Regions from separate parts of the Homo sapiens genome. Here region 1 is linked to region 2. Evidence: promoter capture Hi-C in 16 types of primary human blood cells and fetal thymus (Javierre and others, 2016). All regions are on one chromosome and are shown on one strand. The core of a region is centred on a gene start or on the middle of the fragment in contact, and the rest is flanking DNA. Distances in the headings are between cores, read along the strand shown. Region 1 has its middle 70 kb from the start of PHLPP1. Region 2 holds the start of SERPINB5 (serpin family B member 5).

Region 1 (4,526 bases), core at 1,949-4,448, 830 kb after region 2:
CTGGTAGGGGACAAGAGCAACCTAGTGGCACCCCTCATTGCTCCTCCCTGTCAGAATATTTCTCACCTGTTTTCCACCCCTCGCTTCCTGACTAGGTCTCCCGGAAGAGCAGCTGGTGCATTTTGCTGTCTGTTTTGTGATAAACATTCAGCTCTTTTTCCCTCTTGCTATTTCATGGATATATGTGAGGGTGAAATCAATAATACTATACGTGAAGACTTTTAAAAACTAAGAAAAGCACGAGGTTTCAAGGGTGCAAATACTTATTAGTATTATCATCACTAATATTTGCAAAACAAGAAAAAGAAATAATATTGCTAAAAATAAGAAATTGGAAAAAATTGCTGACAGAAGTCAATTTAAGAATAAAGTTGAACATGATTTTGGAAGGCTGGTCATAAATACAAATAAATAAATATACATATATATGTTGGTATCAAATATATTGAATTTTAGGTCTAGATAAATAGGCATTTTTTTGTTTCCTAAGAAAATATTCAAAATTTTAGTTGAAAATGGTGAATATTTTCTTTGTAAACTTTATCTTAAGGCAAATATATAGATAAGACTGTATGAAATTTCAGCTGATATACATTACTAATTATACACTGTTGGCTGGGCATGGTGGCTCATGCCTGTAATCTCAGCACTTTGGGAGGCCAAGGCAGATGGATCACTTGAGGTCAGGAGTTTGAGACCAGCTTGGCCAACGTGACAAAACCCCGTCTCTACTGAAAACACAAAAATTAGCCGGCTGTGGTGGTGCAAGTCTGTAATCCCAGCTACTTGGGAGGCCAAGGCAGGAGAACTGCATGAACCCAAGGAGGTGTAGGTTGCAGTGGGCTGAGATTGTGCCATTGCACTCCAGCCTGGGCAAGAGCGCAAGACTCCATCTAAAAAATAAATAACTAAACAAATAATACACTGTTAAGACTGACATCAAGGCTATCTCTGGGAATGCATTAATAGGTAAAACTCTGATATTTACCCAATAAAGTCATTGAATGCTTACACTGTTCATCTTGCTATGGTAGACACTTTAAAGGATTGAGTAAGAAAAAAAAACTATCCTTTCCATTTATAAGCGTATTTTTTTCTCATAAGGAAAGATATGATGTTTGGGTAATATGGGGTTTAAATTGCTTGTTGTTTTATTGAGGGTTGAGGGAGGTCTTATAATGTCTGGAAACGAATTGAATCAGCTAATGAATCAACGGTCATTATTGTTTTAAATCCCCATTTGCCAATTCTGAGATATTAAAATAGGGAATGCAGGGAACATTACAAACTGCCATTTGGTTATTTAATGTGATTTCTGGGGCACCAGGAAAGCTTCTTTGAGCAACAAACTCTCTCTCTTCCTTGTTTACTATTCCTTAAAAGTGAATAATATCCCTATTCTCTAATTTAAGTGCATGAGGCCTTTGCTTTCAGACTCTGCCTCTTTCAAAATGGTAGAGTTAACAAGTTGAGCTGATAGTTGTTGACAACCACTTACGCTTGGGATGAGTTGGTTTCAAATTTTGTCTTGAAAAGGATTTTGTTTGGGAAACAGCTTAAGATCCAAAATATGGGATGGAGACTACAATAAAGAGTAGAGAGGGGACTCCAGAGAAAACTCTGTCTCCCATCACAATTTGGGTTAGGATCAGCATTGTAGAAAACACTACCAACAAATCTGGAAAAGCAGGTAAATCTGTAGTCTTTCTGCAACAACATGGAACAACATGACATTCTATGAGATGACTATATAAATAGGGAAGAAAGTGAATTAATCTCCAGGAGAAATATCTAGACACTCTATTTTTATTTTTTGATACAGAGTTTCGCTCTTATTGCCCATGCTGGAGTGCAATGGCATGATCTCAGCTCACTGCAACCTTCGCCTCCCAGGTTCAAGTGCCTCTCCTCCCTCAGCCTCTTGAGTAGCTGGGATTATAGGCATGCACTACCATGCCCAGCTAATTTTTTGTATTTAGTAGAGACGGGGTTTCACCATGTTAGGCTGGTCTCGAACTCCTGACCTCAGGTGATCCACCCACCTCAGCCTCCCACAGTGCTGGGATTACAGTTGTGCACCACTGCTCCTGGTCCTCTCTCTCTCTCTCTCTCTCTCTCTCTCTCTCTATATATATATATATATATATATATATATATATATATGTATTTTTTTTTTTTTTTAGAGACAGGGTCTCTGTATCTTGTCACCCAGGTTGGAGTACAGTGGTGCAATCATAGCTCACTGCAGCCTTGAAGTGTGGGTTCAAGTAATGCTCCTGCTTCAGCCTCCCGAGTAGCTGGGACTGCAGATGCTCACTACCACATCCTGCTAATTTATGTTTATTTTTTGTAGAGAAGGAGTGGCACTACTGTTGCGCAGGCTGGTCTTGAACTCCTGGCCTCAAGTGATCCTCTTTGCCTCCGCCTCCCCATAGACCACTCTAGAGAACATTGTACTCAGATGGAACTTGAACCATCCAGAATAAATCAGGCCTGGGAAAGAGAGAAGAGAGGCAGCAGAGAGAACTGTCTGAGAAGAGTATGTTGGCAGCCCAGCTGCCAAAAAGCAGTCCAGATGGTCCCAACTTAACTGAAAATGGAAATTTTCCCTGACCCTTTCATGGGCCTTGTGACAAGGATGCCTCATTTACTCAGCCTGCAGCTTTCAACCCCTCGTGGGAAGAGGAGCACACAGGTGAGTGGGTGCAGGAGCTGGAGTTAATGCTTTCAGGCGCTGGCAGGTGCAAAACTCCATGCAGGCCCCACGGCAGCATCTTGCAGGGGGTGGTACCCATGACCCTTGAAGCCCCAGAGGGCATGTATTACAGGCAGCGCTTTGAGCTTGGCTGTCCACAGACGGCTTAAGTGTTTAACAGCTCAGTGGACCCTCTGCCTTTTCACGAGGGCAGAGGGTCACTGTGACAGCTTTCTGTACCCCAAGCTGTTGTCTGGTGTCCAGGAAAAATCAGGTCATACGAATGAATTGAAGGATAGTAAACATGGGGGATTTTATTGCCAGTGGAAGTGGTTCTTAGCAGGAAGGGGAGCTGGAAAGAGGATGGAGTGGGAAGGTAATCTTCCCCTGAAGTCTGGCCATTTGTGTTTGTGGCTAGACTCTTTGAAATTCCACCGTCAAGCCATCCCTCTGAAGTCAAACTGCTTCTCTCCAACATTCATCAGCTTCTTCTCTTCTCTCCTTCCCTGCTTCTCTGCCCTCTGCCAGTGGAGCCTGGGGTTTTTATGGGTACAGGATGGGGGGCGGGCCAGGGGTGGTTTTGGAAGAGGCAACATTGGAGCAGGAAATTGGGGATGTAAAGTTCTCACTTTGGGCCATGGTTCCAGGTTTGAAGGTGGGGCTCTCACCAGGGACCCCACCCTTTTCTGCCTAGAATTTCTCTGCCTCCTGTCTCTATCATTACCATGGCTTGAGTTAGGATTTTTTGACTTTACAATGGGTTTGTTGGGATAGTAAATGCATTTTCAACTTACGATATTTTTGACTAAGGCTGAGTTTATCTGGATATAGCCCTATGGCTAAGTCAGGGAGCATCTGCGTTAAATGGGTGAGGCTGATTGTTGGGAACCCACACCCTGTATCAGGTGAGCATGCATTTTACTAGACTTGGCCACTTCTTACATGTGGAAGATGTGAGAAAGTCTACATCACCCAGTGACTTTCATTCTCCAATTTTGTTTTTTTTGAGATGGGGTCTCACTTTTTCACCCAGGTTGCAGTGCCGTGGTGCAATCTCGGCTCACTTCAACCTTTGCGTCCGAGGCCCAAGCAATCCTTCCATCTCAGCCTCCTGAGTAGTTGGGACTACAGGTACCCACCATCATGGCCAGCTAATTTGTTATATTTTTGGTACAGACTGGGTTTCTCCATGTTGCCCAGGCTGGTCTCGAACTCCTGAGCTAGGAGATTTACCTGCCTCAGCCTCCCAAAATGGCGGGATTACAGGTGTGAGCCACCATGCCAGCCCCAAACTTACTTTTCTGTAAAATAGTTTGGGACTGAACACAGAGATTCTTAATCACCTTGTTTCTTTCAGATGTGGGGACTCAGTGGAATGTACCCATCCAGGCAAGCAGTGGTTTTGCCTGTACCTGGTGCCTGATCCCTAGTCGGGAGCAGTGTCCCTGCTTTCCCTAAGGGAGGACCCGTTCCAAAACCTTTCATTTGCACAGCCGTCAGTTACAACCTTCTATGAAATTGTTCTCAGGACTTAAGTCTTGTAAAACAGCCCAAACTCCCTTAAATTCTTTCTTGAAAGGGCCTGTATTATGTGAGGAAGTGCTAACCCCACCCTTGGGCCTGGTTCCTGCTGGGCAGTTTAGAAAGAAAGCTGAACAGTGAGCTTTCCCGGGCCATTATTCAGCTCTGAAAGGTAATCAAAGGGAATACCTTTCCTTCTATTATCCTATTGCTGAGTTTTACGGAGTTTTATGGAGGACTGCCTCTGAATACAGACGTGTTCAAAGAAGCCAAGAACCTAATATAAACAAGAATTTCCAAACAGTGCTTG
Region 2 (4,160 bases), core at 1,170-3,669:
ATGAAGATTTCCTAAGTTTTTTATGCATCTGAGCCAATGGTCCTCACATTTTTTGTCTTTAGACCATTTAGGTGAGAAAAAAGTCCTGTGGGTAGGATATATACATCCCACTTTGCCTGGGACAATCCTGGTTTATGTCTGTTGTCTTGACATTGATAACAGTGCCCCGTTTACTCTCAAACATATCCTGATTTGAACAATATATGTTCATTTTACTTATAGACCATCAACCACACTCTTCACCCACACATCACGGGCGTGCATATTTAAACAGAGCTATGAGTATAGTTTTTTCATCCCTTAAAACCTTAACTTTTGGCCGGGTACAGTGGCTCACACCTGTAATCCCAGCACTTTGGGAGGCCAAGGCGGGCAGATCACTTGAGGTCAGGAGTTCGAGACCAGCCTGGCCAACATGGTGAAACCCTGTGTCTACCAAAAATATAGAAATTAGCCGGGCGTGGTGGCACGTGCCTGTCATCCCAGCTACTTGGGAGGCTGAGACAGAAAAATCACTTGAACCTGGGAGGGTGAGGTTGCGGTGAGCCAAGATCGTGCCACTGCACTCCATCCTGGGTGACAAAGCAAGACTCCATCTCAAGAAAAAAAAAAAAAAAACTACGTTTTTACTGTGTCAGAGTATCGTAGATATCATTTAGCCTGGCCTGCCTCATTTTAAAGATGGAAAGACATGGTGAAAAACATCTCTCAAGTATTTGGTATAACCAGTCCTTAGGGAATGCCATGAGAAACCTTGCCTATTATAATATCAGTAATGGAATGCCAAAAAACACAACCTCTGTTGTCCACATTCTAAGTCTTTGAGGAGCAAAGGATGTGCAGGATTAAGAAAATAGGATATTTTGAAGTTTCTGCAATGTGAAAGACTATGAGGACTAAACGAAGTGATTAAGTGAATCAATGTATATGAAAAGTGCTTTGTGGGCAAGAAAGTACAATACAGCTATTAGTAATTGCTTTAATTTCCCATGGCAGGGGGGCGTCTGCTTTGCTCTGAAGCATCATAGCTGCTCCTGTCTCTTTAGAAGCCTGATCTTGACCACTGACCCAGCCCACTGTTGCCAAGCAGTAAACTTACAGCCAGACTCAGCCACACCAGAATGGCCCAAATCGCTGAGACTGCATAGCCCCAAAGTCAATCCACAACCCAGAGGGATTGAAGTGGCACAATTCAAGGCGTTAGGAAGCAAAGATATAAACCTGCTGACTCATTTCCTTTGGAGACTCCTTTCCTCAGACAGGCTTCATCTCCACCCATGAAGGAACTCATCGAACACTTACACTAACTGACAGGGACTGAGGTTTGGAACCCATTATCGAAAACCTCCCGGGAGATGTAGGGGATGAAAAAGATGGTAACAGAACCCACGGTGTTGTGGAAACATCCCGAGCTGCAAGTGTGAAGGCCTGATTTGATCTCAGCGGTGCTACTTACAAGCTGTGTGCCTTTGGACACCAGATCACCTCTGTGAGTTCTGCTCCTCATCTACAGAATGAGGGGGCTGGGCTGAAATATGTCTAAGAGCCCCCAGCTCTGAGGATCTGGTTACAAGTCTCTGGAATAGCCTGGCATGTTGGTTTTTAGTATGATATGCTTAAATGAAGCCATAAGAAAAAGTGTACAGCATATGAGTAAGAAACTACAAGCAGCTATTACAATTTATAAGTCCAAGAATATGCATCTGAAATGTGTAACTTGTTTAAAGTTATGCTGAAACCCAGAAAACTGAAGGGAGAATAATTTCCGCTTAGAAGAATGCAGTTGCAAGTAGATGAACAGCGATCTGATGCTTAAAAATGCCAAAAAGAAGGGCAGTCCATATGCCTAAATCTCAGCCTTACAACGTCAGCCAGGGAGAAGAGCCAGCCAGACCCACCAATACTTCTCAACTTTCCCCAGTTTGCGGGTACCACACCCTTTCTGAAACTAGCATTGCAAAATTCATTCTGAGTTCCAAAGTAGGCCTGAAAATGTCCTCAGAAGTATTTTCTCCTCCGTGAATCACGGTTGCACCCCTCTACCACCAAAACCTCCGAGCCACGTGACTTCTTCATATTCTTACCTTGTATGGTTAAGTGATTTTACTCCCTCTGCAGTGTTCCTGGTGCTCAAAGGGTTGGGAGCTGGAAATACTGCCAACATGGGGGATGAGAGGCGACAGTACTCAACCCAACAGCCCGTCTTTGAAAACAGCCCCAAAATGGACCTAAGTCCATTTTGTTCACCATCTCAAATCAGCTCAAATAACGATATTTATGAATTTCCCTGAAAAAAGGAAGTCACCAGCCCTGCTACCCCACCTTGCTTACCTGGAGTCACAGTTATCCTGGAAAATGCGTGGAAAAGGAACAGGCAAGCGAGGAGCACAAAGACCTGGATGTGGAGGCGACCGTGTCTGGGCAGAAGCAGCGGTGGCTCACCTGGGCAGCACCGCCACGCCCACTGCCAGCCCAGCTCCACGCCCCGCCCCGCCCCGCCTCGGCGGCACTCCTCTCCTACTCAAGCCTCTTGGCAGCTTGTCCACAATTGAAAGAAATGATTCAGGCTGAAGTTACTGTTGTCTGCACAGCTTCCAAAAGGCCTCCAACATGTTCGGGCAGGAAGGGGCTGTGAGTTACATGCATACGTACAGACATGCGTACGGCAATCCTCTCGGCCCACGCAGGACCGGAAGGTGAAATATTCGATGAAATAAAAGTAATGTGTGATGATAGTAACACTACAAATTTCTCAGACACGTTGGTGGCACAAAAAGTACTCTGATCTCCATTCTTTTTGTGTAAACTGCAGCAGCTCATTCTGCTAGATGCCAAGAGAGGTAGCTGCCCATTAAACAGAAAGACAATCAAAAAAGAAGGAATGGATATATGTATAAACACAGTGCCTACCTAAAAATTAGGTACTATTAGCAAAATATTTACTACCAAATTGGTAGGAGATATTGTTTAATGGGTGGCGCAGGAAGTTTCTTTTTAAAATCCTGTGATTAGGATTACTCAGGCCTGGCGCGGTGGCTCACGCCTGTAATCCCAGCATTTGGGGAGGTTGACGTGAGCGGATTGCTTGAGCCCAGGAGTTTGAGACCAACCTGGGCAACATGGTGAGACCCCATCTCTACAAAAAATGTAAAACAATAGCCTAGTGTGGTGATGCATGCCTGTGGTCCCAGTTACTTGGAAAGCTGAGACGAGAGGATCACTTGAGCCTGGGAGGTCAAAGCTGCAGTGAGCCGTGAGCTAACCACTGTACTTCAGCCTGGGTGACAGAGCAAAAGAAACAAAAAGAAAAAGGAGTACGCAGCTCTGCTCTGAAATCTCTTCGTGGAGCCTGTTCTTGTCCTCCTGTCTTCCCACAGCTTCTTCATTTGGCGGGACCTACTCCCTTCCAGCCGAATCAGTCTCAGGAAAGGACCTGAAACGGAGCTGGTTGCTTCTCTGCTGTGCTTATCTAGAATTCCCTATTGTACATTTACTACATTGTTTCATAATAATCTCTTACATTCTCCTATATGTGACTACAACAATGTTAAAGGTAAGTGCCAAACTTCATTCATTTTTATAACACCAAAGCTTGGTACAGACCTGATGTACAGTATGCAGTCAATAAGTGCTTGTTGAGTAATGAATAAGAGCAACTCGCTATATTAACTGACTAAACTAAGATTGATAACAGCTTCCCCTCCCCCATGTCCTGGGTATTTTAATGTTAACCAGAATCAAAGTCATAAACTAAGTGAACTCCAAAAACAGAATTTTAGGCATCAGTGGAGCAAGTGGAGGGAAGGTCATAGGTGAGGAGGTGTGGAAGGATGCTTCTTAAAAATTCTATTATCCAGCTGTAGGAGGGAAAATGAGAATTTGGGAGCAGAGTCATAAATTTGCAAACTAAGTCTAACCACTCATTGCTTGAGAAATCCTGAGCAAATTGCTTAATCCCTTTATCTTCAGATTCCTCATCTGTAAAATGAGATCTATATATAGTTCTCATTTGTCAATAAGATCGATAAAATGAGATATAGACAGAGATGGATGAAGAGACAATTCTTACATACTTTCTGACACATAGCATGTGCTTCCTAATGATGGCAATTAGTACCACTTTGCCCATTGGTTAGGTAGGCTCGGGGAATAGTGGACAA

What was found. Contacts are between HindIII fragments. The CHiCAGO score rates a contact against its expected background, and 5 or more counts as called.
Region 1: a fragment that was not itself captured here is called in contact with the fragment with the promoter of SERPINB5 in region 2 in 3 of 17 cell types (total CD8 T cells, activated CD4 T cells and M2 macrophages); the score reaches 6.0 in total CD8 T cells.

The regions. Positions count from the first base shown.
Region 1 is chr18:62,643,207-62,647,732 of GRCh38, reverse strand. No RefSeq gene overlaps it. Among named protein-coding and RNA genes, the nearest start is that of PHLPP1, 70 kb to the left of the region's middle. The HindIII fragment of the contact is 3,728 bases long and covers 1,335-4,526 here.
Region 2 is chr18:63,475,217-63,479,376 of GRCh38, reverse strand. SERPINB5 (serpin family B member 5) reads right to left here and starts at 2,419. Exons shown (of 7, transcript NM_002639.5): 1 at 2,332-2,419. RefSeq lists an enhancer at 2,471-3,670. The HindIII fragment of the contact is 5,766 bases long and covers 1-3,593 here.